Regions from separate parts of the Homo sapiens genome. Here all the other regions are linked to region 1. The links are contacts of gene promoters, found by promoter capture Hi-C in blood cells and fetal thymus (Javierre and others, 2016). All regions are on one chromosome and are shown on one strand. The core of a region is centred on a gene start or on the middle of the fragment in contact, and the rest is flanking DNA. Distances in the headings are between cores, read along the strand shown.

Region 1 (5,827 bases), core at 2,182-4,681:
AAGACAAATAGGTAAATGGAATAGGATAGAGTCTAAAAAATGGACTCATAGATATATGTTAATTTTTGGCAAAGGATGCAAAGATTTTTCAATGAAAAAGGGTAGTATTTTCAACAAATGGTGCTAGCAAAATCTGATGACAATGTGTAAAAATGAGAACTTTGATTAGAAAAACCAAAATAAATTATAGAGATAAACGTAAAACCTAAAACTAAAATTTTAGGGGAAAGTATAGAAGATGATAATTTTTGTGATCTCACATTAGACAAATATTTCTTAGTTTTGACATCAATATTATGATTTATAATAGATAACGTTGAAGAACTAGATTCATCAAAATTAGAAACTTCTTCTCTTTGATAGACAGGAGAATGAAAACACAAGCCACAGACTGTCAGAAAATATTTTGTAAACCACATGCGATAAAGGTCTTGGATACAGAATAAAGAATTCTCAAAACTCAGAAATAAGAAAACCAACAACATAATAAAAAAATAAGTAAAATATATGAAGACACTTCACCAAAGAAGATACGTATACACATAGCAAAAAGACATAGGAAAATACGTTCAACATCATTTGTCATGAAGCCACATGAGATATTACTACACATCTGTTAGATAAGCTAAAATTTAAAAGACCATCATAAATGTTGGCAAGGATGTGTGCAACCAGATCTCTTATATACTGTTGTGGTAAAGAAAAGTAGTAAAACTCTTTTGAAAAAAAAGTTTAATAGTTTCTTTTTCTTTTTGAGACAGAGTCTCGCTCTGTCCCTAGGCTGGAGTGCAGTGGCGCGATCAATCTCCACTCACTGAAACCTCTGCCTCAGGGGTTCAAGAGATTCTCCTGCCTCAGCCTCCGGAGTAGCTGGGACTATAGGCGCACACCACCATGCCCGGCTAATTTTTGTATTTTTGGTAGAGACAGGGTTTCACCACGTTAGCCAGGATGGTCTCGATCTCTTGACCTCATGATCCGCCCACCTCACCCTCCCAAAGCGCTGGGATTACAGGCATGAGCCACCGCACCTGGCCTTAATAGTTTCTTAAAAAGTTAAACATACACATTCCATATGATCCAGCTGTTCCACTCCTAGGTACTTACCCAGAAGTAATGAAAACATACGTCCACAGAAAGAGTTGTACATATATGTTCATATCAGTTTCATTTGTAATTGCCCAAAGTTCGAACAACCAAAGTGTCCATCATCAGGTGAATGGACAATTTATAGCGCATATATACAATGAAATAAATTAAAAATTTATTTCATTAAATAAATGAAATTTATTAATTTAAAATAAATTAAAAATTTATTTCTTTGTATATATGAATAAATATTTAAAAAGTAGAATGAACTATTGATGCTAACATAGATGAATCTCAAAAGAACTTTGCTTAGTGGAAGAAGCCAGACCAAAAATACTACCTGCTTTATGATTCCACATACATAATTTTTAAAAATGCAAACTCTTCTATAGTGACATAAAGATCAGTGGTTGCTTAGAGGGTTGTTTCAGTGATGAAAGGAGGTACTGATTACGACGTAAGAAAACTTTTGGGTGATGGAATGATTCATTATTTTGATTTTGGTGATGGCTTCACAGGGAGATACATGAGTCAACATTTATCGAATGATGGATGCACTTTAAGTGCAGTTCATTATATATGTTATACCTCACTGAAGTGGAAACAAATTGGATGTAAGTATCCCACATGTTGACTACTAAAGTTCTCAAGTTTCATCTCTTCAGTAGGCTTCTGTAAAGTAAAATTCTGGTGAGCTTAAAAAAAAACCTAGATCTCTATGCCAAATTAACTTTGAGCAGCATAATAGAAATGCCTGGGGTTTTAGGGCATTTCCAAATCGCAGTAAACTACAGTTTAATTTGTAATAGGACAAGAGGAAGGAAAAAAAAAGAAGAAAAAGCGGTGGGTGGGGAAATCAGGAAAGGAAAGCAAGAAGAAACAGGGGAAGTACACTCGGCAGGGGAATCGGCAAGACTGCACCTACACACTCTCACCCGCCTCTATAGATTCTCTAGGCAGGAGGCTGCAAGTGGATTAAAATGTTACAACGCAAGGCAAGTCCTCCACCGCAAAAACTGCTCCTCCCAGACTTAGCCCAACCAGCTGGAAACTCCGTGCTTGGAGCGTTAAATCGGACGGACACCCGCCCCCTCTCCACCCTCTGCCTTCCAGCTGCGCCGCATCCTGTTCTCCGTCGCCGCCTGGTGGCGAGCTCCCGGGACCCGCAGGCGCTCGGGTGAGGCAGGAGGGAAGGCGCGGGGAACAAAGGTCCCTGCAGTGGAGGGGCGCCTCGTCTACCTCCGGATGCTTTTGCCACGACTCCGTCTTGGCACCAGTCTTGCTGCCCTGGAATGCAGTTTCCCAAACGCAGCGCTCACTCTGACTCCTCTCTGCTTTTATCCGTCAGGTCTCAGTTCTTGCGGGTGGGAGTCGGCTGAAGGAGCTGCGTTATATGGTTGTGACATCACCCTCCCCGGCCCCCATTTTCAGGTCAGAACTTTCATGCCTTTGGAAACGAGGGACCCAGAAGAGCCCTTACTGTAGGAGGAATGTCGCCGTTAGACCTCTAAGCTCCGAAGAACCAAGGGGAGACAGAATCCAGATTGCTTCCTTAAATCCCAAGTAGTATTGTTTTTTCCACCTTAGAGTCCGCCCCCCCGCCCCCACTTGTCCCATATATTGATCGGCCACTTTGCCACCGTGTTCCAAGGTTGGAGAGCGTCACAATGCCCCACCGTCCCCAACTCTCAAGTGGCCGACAGTGGGCAGTCCAGAAGCTGGGACCAGACTCATCTGCCCGAGGGCACAGTAGGAGGGACGGAGGGATCTCCCAAGAGCTCCGAGGGCGAGGTGAGAACCAATTGTGGGGAGGGGGACCTTATAACGGGGCAGTTAGGAACGGGCAGAGGTGCCCCCACCTCCAGCTTTCAACTCAGGCGAGGAAACTTCGAGACCTTCCCGTCCACACCTGATTGACAGAAGGAAGCTGTCGCGGCCCAGGAGGCGAGTGTGGGTGTGCAGAGGTGGAGACAAAACCTAAAAGCACGCAGAGCCGGCGAGGGCTTGCGGTCCTGGACGGTAGGGGTCTGCGTCTGGTGCCACCTTCTCCATCAGGCTGCTTGCTGGGTCCACCAAGCCTGACCCCTCCAGCCAGGAGGGGATCACGGAGTGTGTCCCCCGCCCGGGCTGCTGCCTGCCGGAAGGGGGCTGGGAAACCGGGATCCCCGCGCGCCACTTGCCTGGCAGCGTCAGTTTCACCCAGGACTGGCTAGCGGTTCCCTCGTGGCTCTGCGCGGAGGTCCGCCTCCTCCCTTCCCTCCCCCATCCCGCGCGCTGCCTCCGCCTCCTTCTTCTGCCTCCACCCTCAACCCCCATCCCCGCCTGACGGGAGCTAGCCCTCAGTCCGCCCGAGCTGTGGTTGTGGGCGCCGGACAAGTCCAAGGCGCCTCCTCCCAATATGGACAGCCGCTACAACAGCACTGCGGGCATCGGGGACTTGAACCAGCTGAGCGCTGCCATCCCGGCCACGCGGGTGGAGGTGTCCGTGTCCTGCAGGTGAGGACGCAGCCCTTCCCCTCTCTCCTGCCCTCTCATCTGTGGGGTTGGTAGCACTTGGAGAGCGCTCGGGGTACCACGAGGCTTTGCGCAGGCAAGAAGTTGCGCCATGAGTGGGAAATATCTCAGTAGTGGGGCTGGAGTTACCCCGGGTCAGGTGACACAGGGGAGCGGGAATTAGAAGCGGTGGGCTCCGGGACTGAGACTTTGTATTTTCTTTCTGGGAAACGCTGTAAAAGTTGGCTGGGCTGTGACTCAGCTGTGGGAACACCGGCCGCCGCCCACTTTACAAGCCGGTTTTCCGCCCCAAACCCGGGCTGGATGGTTGGGTGATGACCGGAATCGAAGGGGACAGCACTGCCAAAAGCTCTTGTGACCGCTGCACGCTTAGGCCCGGGACTTCCTCTGCTAGGCGTGTGCAAACCTGCTGTTGCTAGGGTTGGCTCCAACCCCGGCAGCTTCCTCCCCACCCACTTCCTGGAGCCTTCCAGCTTGCTTCTCCCCGACCCTTCCGGGCTTTTTGCCTTTTGCCTGATAGGTAGAGATTTCGGCCCTCCTTGCAGACGAATCTATGCCTTACCTAAGATCTGGGAAGTCACGACTTTTGTTTTGATTTGTTTTCGGGCCCACATCTGAGTGCTTGTAAAAACTGACTCTCGGCCGGGCGCAGTGGCTCAGTACAGTTTATACGCCTGTATTCCCAGCACTTTGGGAGGCCAAGGCGGGTGGATCACGAGGTCAGGAGTTCGAGACCAGCCTGGCCAATATGGTGAAACTCCGTCTCTACTAAAAATGCAAAAATTAGCCGGACGTGGTGGCACGCGCCTGTAGTCCCAGCTACTCGGGAGACTGAGACAGGAGAATCGCTTGAACCCGGGATGTGGATGTTGCAATGAGCTGAGATCTTGCCATTGCACTCCAGCCTGGGCGACAGCGCAAGACTCCATCTCAAAAAAAAAAAAAAAACAAAAAAAAACTGACTTTCAACCCTGTCCAGAGACTGTAAATTGCAAACTCGTTGTCCTGACCTTTCGGTTAGTTGCCCTGTAAATAAAGCAGCATCACCGCTATATCATAGATGATTTTGAGAAGGAGATGAGCGATGGTGCTAAATTGGTACTGGCCACTAATTTGCGAATTAATATTGACCCTGGAGCCCACTCCCTTGTTTGCATAATTGGGTCTGTCTCACTGGAAAACTGGCTCCTCATTTATCCATTTTTGCCCTAAGATTGTTTTTATGCCCTCACATCCTCCCTTTCCTTTCCTTAGCAAACTTGCCTTGAAGATATCTAACAAATTTGGGTGATCTTGATGTAAATAAGTTTAAAATTCCATCAATCTTGACTTTGCATTTTCACAAACTGAGCCTAAAGCCAAAGGAATTCTTTTCTGGGGGTGAAAATTCGAGCACCAGCAACCGTAGTAGAAGTATTATTTGAGGGTAGGGGACAGCCTTTATCTAGCCCTGAAACTATATCACCTGATTGTTTGCCGCCTCTTAAGACTGATCTGGGACTATGGAAATAATCATGCTGATAATGATAGCTATCATTAAGCTCTTGCCTCATTGCTGTCACTGCTTTAAGTGCTGCCTGAGATTTTTCTGTCAATGGAACAGGTGAAGCTGTTTGGAAAACTCTTTAGAGGATTCCTAGGCCTTTTTCTTTTCTCTGAAGCTTGCTTTCGATGTTAGAGGGAAGTTACTGGTATATACAGATAATGGATAGCCGGAAGTCCTACAATAACAGCATTACTAGAGTTCTTATCCTCTGCTCAACAGTCTGCAAAGTCTGAATGGCATGTGGCCTATACTTGGAATGAATATAAAAGAATATTGTCAATCAAGTCTGAATTTTTCCATGAGCTTTTTAAGGGAAATTATACCTAAACTGGTCATTCTGCCAGTAGGGCCCATGTTTAATGCAGCCCCTTTTTTGATGCATGTTTTCTGTGAGTGTGCTGGGCATACTGAAGTCAATTGGCTTAAGGCAATTTGTTTCAGTTTGCTGCCTCAGAACCTGCAAATCCCTTGTTCCAGCTTTTTTTCATAACATTGCTTTGACATTTTGTTTTTAATTTTTAAGATTTCTAACAGGAAAAAAAAATCCTGAAAGAGAACCTGAATACTTAGTGTCAAGCATCTCTGCCAGGGGCACTAGTGCTTAGTCTATTGTTTGAGTTGCTTCTGACTCAGCTTACTATTTACGATAAGTTTGAGGTAAAAAGCATCTTTTGGGCA
Region 2 (5,827 bases), core at 2,124-4,623, 490 kb after region 1:
AAGGGTGGCTTAGTTAAGAAGTACCTTGGTCCTCTTCTTCCCTCTGAGAGGACAGAGGGAGAAGTTGCTTATTTGTGTATTCATTAGGGAACATTATCTATCAAACATACAAACCCATATACATATGAGAGCTGTTTTCTGATCTATTCTAATTGATGAAAGCCTCTTGCTAAATGCTTCTCTGCCTTAATTTCAGCAATTTTACATGTGTTCCTAGGTTTTAATTAAACATTGTTATTGGCCGGGCACGGTGGCTCACGCCTGTAATCCCAGCACTTTGGGAGGCCGAGGTGGGTGGATCACCTGAGTTCGGTAGTTCTAGACCAGCCTGACCAACATGGAGAAACCCCGTCTCTACTGAAAATACAAAATTAGCCGGGTGTGGTGGCACATGCCTGTAACCCCAGCTACTCGGGAGGCTGAGGCAGGAGAATTGCTTGAACCTGGGAGGCAGAGGTTGCAGTGAGCCGAAATCGTGCCATTGCACTCCAGCCTGGGCAAAAAGAGTGAAACTCTGTTTCCAAAAAAGAAAAAAAAAAAAACATTGTTTTTATACTCACTCCTAAACCCATCTAATTTTTGCTCTTCTTGTTTCTGATATCTCTTCCAGCAAAGACCATTAAATCTTGTTTTTCTTTTCCTAATAACTTGTGTCAATTCTGGAGCATGTATGGTTTTTCTGCTGATTTGCTTATAGATACCTTTTTTTGTAGTTAACCATTAGATATTTTGTAGCTATAATTGAAGGAGAAGACTGGCCCCTATTAATTATTACATATAAGCTTTGCTTTCTTCATGACATGCATAAGATTTTATTCTGAGGTTACATACATCTCTATGTTATTTCTACAGAAAGAGAGAAAAAGCTTGAGGCAGTACAAAAGATTCTCATTTTATTAGACATATTAACAACATACAGAAATATTTGTATTCCCCTGGTATGTCTTACTGACTTATGCTATTCTTGGTAACTTGGCAAAATCTTTGAAATAGAGAACATTAATTTTCACCTTTGATATGCCTTGAAAGAAATCTTAGGCAATTGTTTGAATACCAAAACAGCTCTGTGAAGAGCTGCGCATTCAAGGTGAGAAAACACTTTTTAACAATATTTTTTGGTGGTAACATTATAGAGGCAGCTAAGAAACATACGGTTGTCATCACATAGCAATCTAGAAAAGAAAGAGGACAGACTATAACAACCAGATTATTTATTCAAGGACATATATTAACACTTCAAATGCTATGCAAACAAGTTTGCATGTGGGGGTGGGGGTTGCGGAGGAGTTTCCCAAAGCCATGATTAGAATTATTTCCTAAGGAGGTAAAGTTTGAATCAGGTAGTAACTGAAAAAAGAGTAGAGTATGAATTGATAGATAATGAGCGACAAAAAGACAAAGAAGCAAGAAAAACGAGTAAGAGAGAGGCAGAGTAGATTTGCTTTTTTGAATGCTATAGTAGGTGATATGATGGCTCAAGAAAATAAAATAAAATAAAGAAATTTAAATAAGGGGCTTGATTATCTGTCTCAGATATATTGGGCAAAGGAAATCCTTTCTTAGTTTTAGTATATAGATATGAGTGATCAAAATGGAATTTGCGGGAAATGATTCTCACTTTAAGAATAGGATGGATTGAAAGGAGGATAAGTTAGACACTAAGAAAGTGAAATACTAGGTGGTAGATATCAAATGGCTGAAAACTAATTAGGATTGAGCTAGCAAAATATCAAGAAAAAGAATGAAGAACATTGTATCTGATATTTATCAACAGATAGACAATGTTGGGTGATGAATGAAAGATGGTGATAAAATTAAAAAAAAGTATTCAATCATTTATTCCTTCCTTAAGTCTATCACTTATTTCTTCATTTTTCCAAGCATTCATTAAGACATTTTAGATTACAATAAAGAGAAAAAGAATCAGATTGCTGACCCCTGACTACTTATAAGTTTCTTTCAAATAGCTTAATGTGAAGCTCAGATTCTTCATCTACACTCTGTTTAAAATAAAATTTTCTCATCCATGAGGATCAAATTAGATATTTATAGTCAACAAAGCCCTTTCACTTCTAACTGAAAGGTACCCAGTCAACATATGTAAACCCTAGTTTTCATGTAGATAACATAGGTAAAATGTTATAAAAAGTATAAGGTCCCATATAAAGTTACTATGTATTATTCTTGTTATTTCATTACATACTTTGGGCACAGCATGTCAGTAAGTTCCCAAGGGAAAGTAAAGGTATGATAAAATGTATTTGCTGCATTCCAAAAGAAATGTGACTAAAATAAAGAGGAGAATAGAGGCATAAAAGCAACACATGATTAAAGCCTTATCATCTAGGGTCCTTGGAAAGACCATATGGAGGAGTTAGGATTTGAATTAGGGATTAAAATCTGAATAGGATTTAGTTAGGTAGATACATTGTAAAATATGATGACCTTGCAGGTTTTCCCTCAATGCCTTCAGAGAAGGGCTTGTTTACCTTTAAAAAAAATTTCATTTTCAAGTCTAATCAAACACTGCATCTAAACCATTCTAGAATGTTTCAAAGGTAACAAAAATTGATCATTGGGTGAGGTTCAACCTAATATAGCTGTAGCTAGTCAAAGACTTAAATCAAAGGTGGGAAAAGATCTTTGAGTCACCCAAGTTAAAGACAGAATCATAAAGGGAAGGCTTCATTTGAAATAGAATGCAAAATTTCCAACAGAACTGTCACAATGAATGTTCTTAGCATGAGGTAAATTGCACTTTAAGTCGTAAAACATAAATAAGGACATGGTGTAACTATAAAAGTTTCACCGTAAGAAAATTAGTGTTCAACTTTTAATTAAGAATGATTTCAAAAATGCTTGCTGTCTATGAAAGCAAGTTTTCCACTTGCCCCAATAGCATTGTTATCCAATGTACCGTTTGGAGGTTATGTAAGAACTTATCATGGGAGCTCAGTCTCATTGTGTTGCTGAGCAACAACTTCCCCTTTCATACATCTGACAACTTTGCTGGCAGGAAAACTTTGTTTAAGATTGAACTTCACTGTTTTTCATTTAAAAAGAAATTGGGAGACCAATAAACTGTTCTTTGTTCTCTACTGAGTTATTGTTATAGTACTTAGTTAGCTATTTTCTCTCTGTTGATACTGCAAGGAGAATATTTCTTTTTATGAAATCATGACTAGAATTTAATTAATTAATTAATTTTTTTTTTTCGAGACGGAGTCTCACTCTGTCACCAGGCAGGAGTGCAGTGGTGTGATCTCGGCTCACTGCAACCTCAGCCTCCCGGGTTCAAGTGATTCTCCTGCCTCAGCTTTCAGAGTAGCTGGAACTACAGGCGTGCGCCACCACGCCCAGCTAGTTTTTGTATTTTTAGTAGAGATGGGTTTTCACCATGTTGGCCAGGATGGTCTTGATCTCTTGACCTCATGATCCGCCTGCCTCAGCCTCCCAAAGTGCTGGGATTACAGGCGTTAGCCACCATGCCCAACCAGAATTTAATATTTTTAAGTAACAGTATTTTTGGTTTGTTTAAAAATAAAGGAAAATTTTCTTCTAAAATAAGAAGTCCATTATAATATAGTTCAAGTATGGAGTGAATAACACAATTCTTCTTAGCTAGTAATGAGCACTAAAATGTATTTGGTACTTACTACATGCTGTGTATTGTGTTAGGCATATTATTTTCATTATTTCAGGTTTCTGCTTAAATGTCACCTTATCAGAGAACACTAGTCTGTCCACCTTAACTATTTAAAATAGCACACTCCTCCACTCATAATTATTGGTCCCTTTACCTATCTTGCTTTGTTCAAAGGACTCTTTTTTACCACCGAATATATTATATGTTTAGCTGTTAAACTGCTTGTCATATGCTTACTCCCTCTAGAACTATGCTGTCCCATACAGTAACCACTGGACACATGTGGATATCAAACTTTTCTATAGAGTCTTTATAATAATAAAAGCAATAGGTACATCATGCTGCCTCAGTCAGTTTGGGATACTATAATGAAAAACCCATAATCTAGGTGGATTAAAATGAACAGAAATTTAATTTTCACAGTTTGGGAGACTAGGAAGTCTAAAACTCAAGGCACCAGCAGACTCAGCGTCTGGTAAGGTTATGCTTTCTGGCGTCTAAATAGGCATTCTTCATCTGTCCTCACTTGACAGAAGAGGCAAACAACTTCCCTCAGTTCTCTTTCATGAGGGCACTCATGCCATTCATAAGGAAAAAGCCCTCTTGACCTAATCCCCTTGCAAAGGCCCCACCTCCTAACACTATCACCTTTGACGTTAGTTTCAATACATGAATTTTGGGGGTATACAAACATTCAGATCATATCGCACACAGCATAATACTAGTGAAATGGATGCATGTTAGTTTAAAAGTTAGTTCCATTATATGAACATGGTTAATAATAATAAAGTTTATGATTTCAGTGTCTAAGTATGCCAGTTTTGTAACCCATGATTGCATAAATTCTGCTAAAAGATTTCTTATTTGGGAGGTGTAAGGCAACATCTAACTCCAGTAAGACTCACTTGAGGTAGTAATAATGAACTGGCTTCCAAAATCTTTGAAATTTATTGCCTCATTTGTGTAAAGATATTAAGAGACTAGGAGTTGTTAGGAGGAATTCATTTTCATCAATCCACAAGATCCACAACTTTAATAATTAAGCCATTTCTACAGTCTTTTCAAACTACATTTTCAATTTTATTTATCCATGTTCTCCCTAGAGGAATATAGAATATACTCTTTATATACTAATATTCAGACTATGAAAAGAACAGAGATCACTTGAGCCTGGTAAACCCTCCCTGACAGCACATCCTGTTCCTACTCCTGCCCACCGTCATTGTAGACAAAATTCTTTAATCAGAACTGACAGTTATAGTCTTGTGAACAGTGACTCTCAAACACTCAGATGAGCAGAGAGAGGAAATGTCACCAGATATTTGGTTCCCAGGAAAAGAAATTAGCCACAAACTTAATAGACCAAAGAACTAATACTGTTGAGAGAGAAGAACAAACACAAAGTTAAATTAAGTATAATGTGTTTAATGAGGTTTTATGAGGTTTTGAGTAGATATTAAATCCATGAAAAAGAAACAACTAGAGACAAAGGAATTTAAAATATAATTTTTAAAGTCTCATTAGTTGTCTTCGATTATAAAAATAGATACAGCTAAGAAAGAAGTTATAACTGGAAATGAACATGAAAGGTTTCCACAGTATGAGGTGCAAATGTATAATCTGACAGTAAAAGGCTATATATATGAAGAAAAAAAATCAGAAGTTTTGAAATCTATCTAGAAGCATATACAGAATTCAAAACAGAGAATGAGCAAAGGCAAATAATAAAATGGAAAAATTATTTAGTGGCTATGTGGTAATTTAGACAGAAATGCTTTTCAAATATGTGAATAGGGGTTTAAAAAGACGCCAACATATGTAGGATAAATGTCAGAGCAACAGGAATAAAACTGAAAATTTAAAAGCTGCTATGGGGGAATAAAAATATTGAAACCAATAATAAGTAAAATATGTCCACAAAGGAATAAAAAACACAGTAGCGTGAAAAGCCTATTGATCACATTTGTGATAGAAGATAATGGAGCAGCAACTTCAAATTCCAAGGTTGAAATTATTTTGACCATAAAATACATATTCAACTAAATTAGTGCAGTGACAAAACAAAGAAATCGTTAAATATGTGAGGATCTATAAATTTTCCACAGATGTCTTTGAAGAAATTAATAGAACAAATAATGGAGAAAAATGAAAAATATATCTAAGAATGAGGAAGATGTAGTA
Region 3 (5,827 bases), core at 1,459-3,958, 320 kb after region 1:
AAACTAGGAAGTTCTGAGGTAAAGCAAAAGATAGCCAAGATGATGATGTTTAGCAACATGAGTTAAGCAACATAATAGCCTTATGAGGATACAAATAAATGATTCAGACATGAGTAGTCTGGAGCTCCAATTTAGATAGCAGACAGAAGCTTAAATGTGGTTACTACCAGGAATTATAGTTTCAGATAGAGTCTTAAAGCATTGATGTCCAGAAAGAATCCCAGTGTGTTAGAGGCTGGATGACAGTGGGAGGTATGGTAAAGAGAATGAATAATAAAGATTGTGCAATTAAAGGTCTAGGGTAAGAATGTTGAGATAAAGGGAGAAATTCATTCATCTGTACAAAATATTAAATCACCATACTCATTATTGCATTTATTAAAAATGAATAAGCACTTAGGGAAGATAGCAGATTCCAAGCTGTATATTTTATGAGTGCCTAGAAAACAATGGGAGAATGTCAAAAAAAAAAAAAAAAAAAGCTAGGTCTCTGTTTTATAATCAGTACTTCTTTTCTTCTTCACAGACAGGAGTAGTGTGCTGCATGGGGAAATAACAGTGTTGATAGATGATAGAAAGAAATGAGTACCTCTCTCTTCTTTGCTTCTGCCCTTTTTTTCTGGCAAAGATATTAGAATAGAGTAGAAACATCAGAATAGAATTTAAAGAATAGAACAAATATTTTAAAACAGAAATTGAAATCCAAGTTAGTCAAAAAATTGAGAGGAAACCTGCTTTTAATGAATTTAAATATTTGGTTCCAATGGATAATAACACAGGGGTCGTTGAGCCAATTTGCAAAACTTCACTGATTGTTAAAACAGTGTCACAACAGCAAGTTGGGAAATGATGAAGAATTAAAAGGGTTCCAGCAAACTGTAAATATATAGGCAAAGTCATTGTCAAAGTCAAGAAAATGCTTGATATCACTGTAACAAAACAATTATAGGATAGATTGTAAAAAGTAATGGTTTGGGCCTTCATTTGAATATAGTTACTAAATATCATTCTCTTTCTGGAAATTATTCACAACCAACAAGGAGAAGTGAAACAAAATTATAAAATCTGAATAAATAAATAGAATCTATTTTTGGGGAAAACTAGAAGTCAACGAAAACTCCAGATTCTCAAATAGCTGGAATGATGCTCAAAAGAATAGAAATAGAACAGGTGGACCCCTGAAAGAAAGTGGAGGAAACAAGGATCCCACTGGAAAAGTTGGCTTTGACTGTAGATTTCAGGAAGAACCAGTAAGAATACCACTATTTAAACTGAGAGGCCTACCCTGAAGTGTAAAACCGAAGTCCACACTGTGCAATATGAAGAGCAGCATGACAGAGTGTAGTCTTTCTATCAGGAAAAAGAAAAATCCATGGCTACTTATTCTTGTTGGTTGTAGAGAAGTCACAGCTAAACAATCCTCAGGTAGATCATGGTAATGGGATGTATCCCGTGTCTCACATGAAAATTCTGAAATAGCAAATCCAGAAAAATACACAACAACAAGAAAACTACAATAAGGAAAAAACTTATTGAAATAAAGAATAAGTTTAAAAGGCAGGGTAGTGGGAGAAACAGAAAAAGAAAACGAAGATGAAGGATGTTGTGGCAGCTGTTGCTTTTCAACTTCTGTCGCGGTCCCCTAAACCTAATTTCATCCGTTTTGTGAGCAAAAGAATCCTAATTTATAGTTGTCATGGCCCATCCAGCTGAGAAACTATGTCTCCCAGTTTCTTTTAAAGATACACATGGCTCCTTGACTAAGTTTGGGTCAAAGAGATATATAAGCAGAAGTGTTAGGTGGAATTTTGAAGAATTACTTGAAAAGAAAGTGATACTTTCTTCTCCCCCTCATCCTCCACAGTTGAATTTCTAGCCAGAATGAGATACAATGAGTCAGAATGATCGTAGGTAATTTTGTGGGCACTCACCAGCTCCAGGCTACCGGATACCAATCTCCTTTTGTTTGTTTGTACATGAATTGGGGATAAATTTTATTTGTGCTACAGTCCTTTGGGGTTTTACTGTTACATTCAGCTGGAAACAAACAACAGAGAAGTGTTCTCATGGAACAAGTAAAAATTTTCATTTGCCAAGACTTTGCTTATTATTAAAATACAGAAATAAACTAAACATTCTATAAAACAAGTGTATAAAACAAAAATGTAAGTACTCAAGGAGAAAAATGATATGATAGCAGCAGGAAATAAAAAGAAATTGGCATAATTCAGGAAAGAAGTAAAAGGAAAAAATATAAAGCCATCACAAAAAGCAGGACAAATTTTGAGGATCACAGTGAGAATAAACACTGTAGAAAACAATTAAAGACATTGATGACAAACTAAAATGAAAATAATAAAGGAGTTTTAAAGGATTAGAGAAAATAATAGCTATGGAGATCAACAAAATATATTATAATATTCATAATTATTCTTCTATGAAGTTAACTGAAATGATTGAACAGAACAAATATTTAAAGATATACTTTTTAAAATAAAAGAGGATTTGAATGGATATACTGTTTCCCATGAAAATTTACCTAAAAATTAACAAAGGCACATCCTGGTAAATATACTGCACTTCCAAGATAATGATGGTATTCTTTTTTTTTTTTTTTTTTTTTTTTTGAGACGGAGTCTTGCTCTGTCGCCCAGGCTGGAGCGCAGTGGCATGATCTCGGCTCACTGCAAGCTCCGCCTCCCGGGTTCACGCCATTCTCCTGCCTCAGCCTCCCGAGTAGCTGGGACTACAGGCACCCGCCACGACGCCCGGCTAATTTTTTGTATTTTTAGTAGAGACGGGGTTTCACCGTTTTAGCCGGGATGGTCTCGATCTCCTGACCTCGTGATCCGCCCGCCTCGGCCTCCCAAAGTGCTGGGACTACAGGCGTGAGCCACCGCGCCCGGCCAATGATGGTATTCTTTAGGCAACAGGTAGATAGATAAAGTCACTTATGAAGTGTGAAAAAGCCAAGCTAGCCCTAGTCTTCCTTAGACATGAAGGAAGGTAGAGTAATACCTCTGAAATCTTCCAGGAAAAAAGGAGCCAAAGATTTCATACCAAATGTAACTGTATTTCAAGGATAAAATGTTACAGATCAATCATGATCATATAAGAACCAGGTAGTAAAATGTTCCTATAAGACTTTCTTAAGATCAACTTCACCTAACCAAGAAACAATTGGTTAACATTGTCTACAAGTAAGACATAAACACGTGTATTTTAGGGTAGTGGGACATAATATTGCTACTTGTAGGAAGCAGGATTACATGCATTATCAGAACTTTTAGTTATCAAGTAAAATTATAACAAAAACAAAAACCTTCTTAAGATAGAAATATACGAGCAAGGGGAACACAGTAAAGGATTTTATTAAATCTATACAACATATTCTCAAATAAGCTGCAAAAGATATTTCAAAGTACAATAGAATTGTACAACACTGTGAATTTACTAAATGTCGCTATATTGTTCACTTTAAAATGGTTAATTTAATGTTATGTGAATATCATCTAAATTTCAAAAGTACAACAGAATTAAGATCAAACATTCTTGTGATATTATTTAACCTAAATGGGCTATGCTTACCTATTAAAAGAAAAAAACTCAATGGATCACAAAGTGAAACCCAACTAGAATGAACAGAAAGACAGTCTAAAGCAAAGTGTCTCAAAAAGATTGATGTTAAAAAGAATTGACACAACAAAAGAAACTATCATCAGAGCGAACAGGCACCCTACAGAATAGGAGAAAATGTTTGCAATCTATCCATCCCACAAAGGTTTAATGTCCAGAATCTACAAGGAACTTCAACAAATTTACAAAAAGACCCACAATCAACCCCATTAAAAAGTGGACAAAGGACATGAACAGACACTACTCAAAAGAAGATATTCATGTGGCCAAGAAACATTTAAAAAAGCTCAACATCACTGATCATTAGAGAAATGCAAATCAAAACCACAATAAGATACCATCTCACAACAGTCAGAATGGCGATTATTAAAGTCAAGAAACAACAGATGCTGATGAGGTTGCACAGAAATAGGAATGCTTTTACACTGTTGGTGGGAATGTAAATTAGTTCAACCATTGTGTAAGATGGTGTGGTAATTCCTCAAAGATCTAGAACCAGAAATACCATTTGACCCCGCAATCTCTTTACTGGGTATATACCCAAAGGCATATAAATAGAATTACAAAGATACATGCACACATATGTTCATTTGCAGCACTATTCTTTGCAGCAATAGCAAAGACATGAAATCAATCCAAATGCCCATTAATGATAGACTAGGTAAAGAAAATGTAGTACCATGGAATACTATGCAGCCATAGAAAAGAATGAGATCATGTCCTTTGCAGGGATGTGGCTGGAGCTGGAAACCATTATCCTTAGCAAACTAACACAGGAACAGAAAACCAAACATTGCATGTTCTCACTTATAAGTGGGAGCTGAACAATGAAAACACGTGGATACAGGGAGAGGAACAACACACACTGGGGCCTCTCGGGGGTATGGTGAGGGGAGGGAGTGCATTAAGAATAATAGCTAATGTATGCTGGGTTTAATACGTAGGTGATTGGTTGATAAGTGCAGCAAACCACCATGGCACATACTTACCTATGTAGCAAACCTGCACATCCTGCACATGTACCCAGAAATTTAAAATTAGAATTAAAAAAGAATTGACAAATGTGCACTAGAAAATAAAAACAAACAAGGCAGAAATCATATTCACATGAGGCAAAATCTAATTCAGAGCAAAATGCATTACAAGAGACAAAGTAGAATGCTTTATAATGTGGGAAGTAAAGATACAAAAGTTATTAATACATTTTCAATAAACAATATGCCATCAACATTCATAAAGAAAAAAACTCCCAGTTACAATGAGAAATAGACACAAAATTACTAATAATGTAAAATTTTGGTTCATTCCTTTTAGTTTATCACAGTCAAGGCACAAAAAAAAAAAAAATGAAAGCTGGCACGTGAGATTTAAATTACACAAATAAAAGGGTAAATATAATTGATTTATACGAAACCCTGAAAAGAGAGAATAGACTGTCCTTTCAAGTGGCTATGGAACTTTTGCAATATGAAATTTTGAAATGCATTTGCCCATGTATTAGAAAGAAATCCTCAGTAAATGTCAAAAAGTAATATTAGATTATGCCCTCCCTTCACTGTGTAAAAATACCTAAAATTAAAAAAAACACACACAGAAAACAAAAGCATTAAAAGCTGATTTAAAAAGCTTTCCCATATAAAATTATTTATTTTAAAAAATCTAAATTGAAATTTAAAATATCCAGTAAATTATAATAGTGAAAATACTGCATATCCAATACATGAAACTTATTAAGACTGTGTTCAGAGTAAAATTTTCAGCTTAAATAATTTAATCAAATGTGGCATTAAAGAATTCCAAAAAGAAAGAAAATAAATGAATTATGCATCCAACTTAAGAAATTTAGAAAAAAATTGTTAAAGCAATAAAATAATAAAATAGTGAGTTAATAAATGGCAAAAGAGAAAAACACTTAAACCAATACATCCAAAAGTTGCTTCTTAAAAGAACAGTAATAAAATAAAGCAATAAAAATGAATTTATTTTTTAAAAGGAGAAATCATAGGTGAGAAAAGGAAGAAGTGATAATATAAACATAACCATATCGAAACAGTCCTAAGACACTGATATGCTCACCCTTTTTAAATATATTTTATGGACAGAGAAAATGGCAAAGTTTAAGTGAAAAACAAAGACCAGAATTGTTATACTTACAATAAAATGAGAAATTTGTCAAGATGCTCGGTCTCAC
Region 4 (5,827 bases), core at 2,419-4,918, 300 kb after region 1:
TTCTTTTCTTTTTTTAAGACAGAGTCTTGCTCTGTCACCCAGGCTGGAGTGCAGTGGTGCTATCTCAGCTCACTGCAACTTCCACCTTCCATGTTCAAGTGACTCTTGTGCCTCAGCCTCCCAAATAGCTGGGATTACAGGCATGTGCCACCACACCCAGATTATTTTTGTGTTTTTAGTAGAGATGGTTTTATCATGTTGGCCAGGCTTGTCTCAAACTCACAAACTCAGGTGATCTGCCTGCCTTGACCTTCCAAAGTGCTGGGATTACAGGTGTGAGCTACCACACTTGGCCCCAAATAGAGCTTTTTGATAGCTAAAGCATTGCTATAGGGAATGGAAATTTTGGTACTTTCCCATTTATTAACTCTTTCCTTGACTATTGTTACTACCTAGAACCTTCTGCTCTATTTGGCTTTGTTATTATTGTGTTGGTACAAAAGTAATTACAATTTTTACCATTGCTTTTAATATTTTAATATTGTATGTGTGTGTGCATATCTCTTGACTGTTTTCTACTGGATACTTTAAAAAAGTAACTAAATAATGCAATATTCATTATGAGAAAAGGTCTATGAGAGAGGAAAAATGGAAACGACCAAAAGGTCCCAAAATAGAGATTTAGTTGGTTAATTTAAGACATTTAGGACATACAAATATAGTTAGTCTTCAGTCAATAAAAATGAAGCAATGAAAAATCAATGACATAGGAATATCTCTATCCTAATGTGAAAAGGAGGTTAAATATGGCAAACTCAGTAAACGTGATTCTTCTCTGTACTGCCACAAAAACTCCTCCTGAAAACACTGCACTTCTAGAGAAAAATGACTGAATTCTTGGGAACAACACGTTAGAAAAATGTACAGCCAAACTCACCAAAAGACAACAAAAGGGAGGAGATATTTGTTCATTGCTGCAAATGACAGTGAAACATAAAACAGAACTTTTAGCTGTTACTGAAGTCGCTTGGAGGTATGAGAGCTGAGATAAAGTTGAGAGATCAGGATATTGTTACTCATATTGGAACAAAAGCTGTGCTTTTGGCACAGCTGGAATGGAACCCTCTTCAAAGAAAAGAAAATAGATGTCACTGTTGGCTATAATGTCTATGAAAATTGGACTAGAAAATCCACAGGTCCGGGGAACATCAGGAATCATGTCAATTGCTCAGAACCATAAAAGGAAAAAAACATAACCTTGAAGAAATGGAAACTCTAATCCCAAATCACAGGCTGTGAGGTTTGAATGTTTACCACCCATGTGGTAGGAAACCAAAAGTTAATAATTTAACATTGGCCCACAGTAAGACTCCCACAAATAAATCTGCCCTCACTGAAGATGAGACATAAAAAAATTTAAACTCCACATGAAAATTAATTACCCTAGTCAACAAATGTGAACAATAATATATGAATAGCTAGCAATAAAAGAACAATACAAACATGACTATGGAATGTCAATGTTTAACATTGTTTAACAATGGGAAATTTAACGTTTGTTAACATTGTTTAACAATGTTAATTGCTTAATGTTTAAAGAGATACAAGAAGGATAAAATCCATATTGAGGGAGGTATGGGAATTGTAAAAGACTAAATGTGAAACAGAGACAAATCAAATCTCTAAGAAAAATATAATTAATAAAATTATGAATACAAAGGACAGATTATACAGAACAGTAAATTCAACTAAAGAGGGATAGTATATAGAAAAATCAATTTAGTGATGTATATAGTGAGATAAAGAGATGAAAATACAGACATGAAAGAGAGTAAATGAAGGTCTAACATATAGTAATAGGAATTCCAGAATTAGCAAGAAAAAAGGTTGGAAAGATCATAGACAAGGGAAGATAATAGTTGATAATTTTCTAATAGTAACATTATTAGTTTTCAGATTGAAGATGTTCAAAATGCCTGATGAGTGAAAACAGAGTCATTGATACGTACGCATCTCACGAAAACTGAAGAATATCAAAGAGAAAAATAAAATTTTACAAGTAAATTTTCTGCTAGTTTCTGTTTCTCCTTTACAGCTGTAGCTCCAATTACATATGTCTTAAACTGTCTTATACTATCACATAGGTCACTGATATTCACTTAATTTTTCTTCAATCTTTATTCTTGCAGTTCTCCAGATTTAATGTTTTCAATTCTGTATCATTGAACTTCACTGATTCTTTTACTTTCTCCAATTTGTTGTTAAGCTGTTCAATTAATTTTGATTCACTTATTATATTTTTAGATTTAAAATTTTTATCTGGCTCTCTTTTATACTTTTTATTTCTTTACTATGACTCCTCATTTTCCCATTCATTAGGACTGTATTTTTTTTTCTTTTTCTTTTCTTTTATTTTTTTAAATGGAATTTCATTCTTGTTGCCCAGGCTGGGGTGTAGTGGCATGATCTTGGCTCACTGCAACCTCCGCCTCCTGGGTTCTAGCAGTTCTCCTGCCTCAGCCTCCCAAGTAGCTGGGATTACAGGCATGCACCACCACGCCTGGCTAATTTTTGTATTTTTAGTAGAGACGGGGTTTCACCATCTTGGACAGGCTGGTCTTGATTTCCTGACCTTGTGATCCACCGGCTTCAGCCTCCCAAAGTGCTGGGATTACAGGCGTGAGCCACCGTGCCCGGCCCTGTATTTTTCTTTTTAAATTTAACTTTTATTTTAAGTTCAGGGGTATATGTGCAGATTTGTTATATAGGTAAACTTGTGTCATGGGGGTTTGTTGTACAGATTACTTTGTTATCAGGTATTAAGCCTAGTAGTCATTACTTATTTTTTTTGATTCTCTCCCTCCTCCCACTCTCAACCCTCCACGGTCTGGTGAGCCCCAGTGTGTGTTGTTCCCCTTTGAGTGGCCATAAGTTCTCATCATTTAGCTCCCACTTATAAGTGAGAACATGTGGTATTTGTTTTTCTGTTCCTGTGTTTGCTTGCTAAGGATAATTGCCTCCAGCTTCATGCGTGTTCCTGTGAAAGACATAATCTTGTTCTTTTTTATGGCTACATAGTATTCCATGGTGTACATGTACTACATTTTCTTTATCCAATCTATCATTGATGGGCATTTAGGTTGATTCCATGTCTTTGCTATTGTGAATAATGCCGCAATGAACATACACATGCCTGTGCATTTATATTAGAACAATTTATATTTTTCAGGTATATAACCAGTAATGGGATTGCTGGGTTGAATGGTATTTCTGTCTTTAGATCTTTGAGGAATCGCCACACTTTCTTCCACAATGGTTGAACTAATTCACACTTCCACCAACAGCATATAAGCATTCCTTTTTCTCCACAACCTTGCCAGCATCTGTTATTTTTTGACTTTTTAATAATAGCCATTTTGACGGGTGTGAGTTGGTATCTCATTGAGGTTTTGATTTGCATTTCTCTAATTATCAATGATGTTGAGCTATTTGTCACATGATTGTTGGCTGCATGCATGTCTTCTTTGGAAAAGTGTCTATTCGTGTCATTTGTCCACTTTTTAATTATTCTTTCTTGTACATTTGTTTAAGTTCTTTATAGATGCTGGATATTAGACTTTTGTCAGAAGCATAGTTTGTAAAACTTTTCTCCCACTCTGTAGGTAGTCTGTTCACTCTGTTGATAGTTTCCTTTGCTGTGCAGAAGCTCTTTAGTTTAATTAGATCCCATTTGTCAATTTTTGCTTTCATTGCAATTGCTTTTGGTGTCTTCATTATGAAATATGTGTCCATTCCTATGTCCAGAATAGTATTGCCTAGGTTGTGTTCCAGGGATTTTATAGTTTTGGGTTTTACATTTAAGTATTTAATCCATCTTGAGTTAATTTTTGTATATGGGATAAGGCTGGGGCCCAGTTTCAGTCTTTTACATATGGCTAACCAGTATCTCAGCACCATTTATTGAATAGGGAATCATTTCCACATTGCTTGTTTTTGTCAGATTTGTCAAAGATCAGATAGTTGTAGGTGTGCAGCCTCATTCTCGTCTAAACAAGGAGCTGAAAGCTCTCTACAAAGAGAACTACAAAACACTGCTCAAAGAAACCAGATATGACACAAACATGGAAAAAACATTCCATGCTCATAGATAGAGAGAATAAATATTATTAAAATGCCAATACTGCCTGAAGCAATTTATAGAATCAATGCTATTTCTATTAAACTATAATTGACATGATTCACAGAACTAGAAAAAGAAACTGTTTTAAAATTCTTATGGAACCAAAAAGGAGCCCAAATAGCCAAGGCAATCCTAAGCAAAAAGAACAAAGCTGAAGGAATTATGCTACCTGATTTCAAACTATACTACAGGGATACAGTAACAAAAACAGCATAGTACTGGTACAAAAACAGACACATAGACCAATGGAACAGAATAGAGAACCCAGGAATATATTTTTCTGTAAACCCTGGATCTATTTATGATTGCTGCCAGAAGGATCTGGTCTCTAGAAGGCTGGAGCATTCCCAGTGTCACTGCTGCTGTGGACTGGGAAATCAGAAAAGGGGCCTCTGGACACTGCACTTGCTGTCCCTCTCCACCACATGCACAGAAGAATTGGTATTTTGATATTGATTGCATTGAGTTTGTAGATTGCTTTGGATAGTATTGACATCTTAAGAATATTGTCTTCCAATACATAAACATGGGATCTTATTCCATTTATTAATTTATTTATCATTTTTCATTCCTTTCAGCAGTGTTTTGTAGTTTTCAGTATACCGTAGTTCCCACATTATCAGTGGTTTAGCATTCTGCCATTTCAGTTACCCAAGGTCATCAAGGTTCAAAAATATTAAATGGAAAATTTCAGAAATAAACAATTCATAAGTTTTAAATTATAGGCCATTCTGAGTAGCATGATGAAATCTTGTGCCATCCTTCTCTGTCCTGCCTGTGATATGAATTATCCCCTTGTCTAGTGCATCCACACTGTATATACTACCTGCCCATGAGTCACTTAGTAGCTTACTCAGTTATCAGACTGATTGCTGCATTATTGCAATGATTGTGCCAAAGTAATCCTTATTTTACTTAATACTGGTCCCAAGGTGCAAGAGCAGTGATGCTGGCATATTGTTATAATTGTTATGTTTTATTATTTGTTATTGTTGTTAATCTCTTACTGTGTTTAATTTATATCGTGGGTATGTACATACAGAAAAAAATCATTGTGTGTGTGTGTGTGTGTGTGTGTGTGTGTAGGTTTTATTGCTATCTGTACTTTCAGGGATTCACTGGGCATCTTGAAATGTGTGCCTCTCAGAAAAATCAGGACTAGTGTACAAGTCTTTTACCTTTTGTGTTGGGTTAACTCCTAAGTATTTTATTATTTTAATGCTTTTGTAGATGGAATTGTTTTCTTAATTTCGTTTTTGGATTGCTTATTAGTTCTGTATATGTCTGTTAGAGATACTCATTTTATTGTGTTCTCTATTTTTTTTAACTTATCTTCTGTCTGGTTGATCTATCTATTATTGAGAGCAGGGTATTAAAGCCTCCAACTATTATTAGTGCATAGACAATCAGCTTATTTTTGCATGTGGATTTTGTATTCTGTTAATTTTCTGTATTTGTTTATTATTTCTTTTATTTTCTTTCTTTTTTTTTTCTTTTTGAGACAGAGTCTCTTTCTTCCACCCAGGCTGGAGTGCAGTAGCGTGAACTTGGCTCACTGCAACCTCCACCTCCCAGATTCAAGCAATTCTCCCTGCCTCAGCCTCCCGAGTAGCTGGGATTACAGGCATCTGCCATCACACACAGATAATTTTTGTATTTTTTTTAGTAGAGACGGGGTTTTGCCATGCTGGCCAGGCTGGTCTTGAA

The links. Contacts are between HindIII fragments. The CHiCAGO score rates a contact against its expected background, and 5 or more counts as called.
Region 2: a contact is called between a fragment that was not itself captured here and the fragment with the promoter of CPNE8 in region 1, in 2 of 17 cell types (monocytes and M2 macrophages). The highest score is 9.7, in monocytes.
Region 3: a fragment that was not itself captured here is called in contact with the fragment with the promoter of CPNE8 in region 1 in 3 of 17 cell types (M2 macrophages, M0 macrophages and M1 macrophages); the score reaches 6.5 in M2 macrophages.
Region 4: a fragment that was not itself captured here is called in contact with the fragment with the promoter of CPNE8 in region 1 in 1 of 17 cell types (M2 macrophages); the score reaches 5.5 in M2 macrophages.

What each region holds. Positions count from the first base shown.
Region 1 is chr12:38,903,195-38,909,021 of GRCh38, reverse strand. It overlaps CPNE8 (copine 8), which reads left to right and starts at 3,431. Exons shown (of 20, transcript NM_153634.3): 1 at 3,431-3,585. The coding sequence starts at 3,488. It overlaps CPNE8-AS1 (CPNE8 antisense RNA 1), which reads right to left and starts at 3,310. Exons shown (of 2, transcript XR_007063275.1): 1 at 2,025-3,310. RefSeq lists an enhancer at 1,887-2,146 and a silencer at 3,277-3,446. The HindIII fragment of the contact is 5,959 bases long and covers 1-5,266 here.
Region 2 is chr12:38,408,767-38,414,593 of GRCh38, reverse strand. No RefSeq gene overlaps it. Among named protein-coding and RNA genes, the nearest start is that of ALG10B, 95 kb to the right of the region's middle. The HindIII fragment of the contact is 5,009 bases long and covers 869-5,827 here.
Region 3 is chr12:38,581,361-38,587,187 of GRCh38, reverse strand. No RefSeq gene overlaps it. Among named protein-coding and RNA genes, the nearest start is that of ALG10B, 270 kb to the right of the region's middle. The HindIII fragment of the contact is 5,113 bases long and covers 152-5,264 here.
Region 4 is chr12:38,606,613-38,612,439 of GRCh38, reverse strand. It overlaps LOC124902917 (a long non-coding RNA gene), which reads left to right. Exons shown (of 2, transcript XR_007063274.1): 2 at 1,890-2,004. Among named protein-coding and RNA genes, the nearest start is that of ALG10B, 290 kb to the right of the region's middle. The HindIII fragment of the contact is 7,333 bases long and covers 2-5,827 here.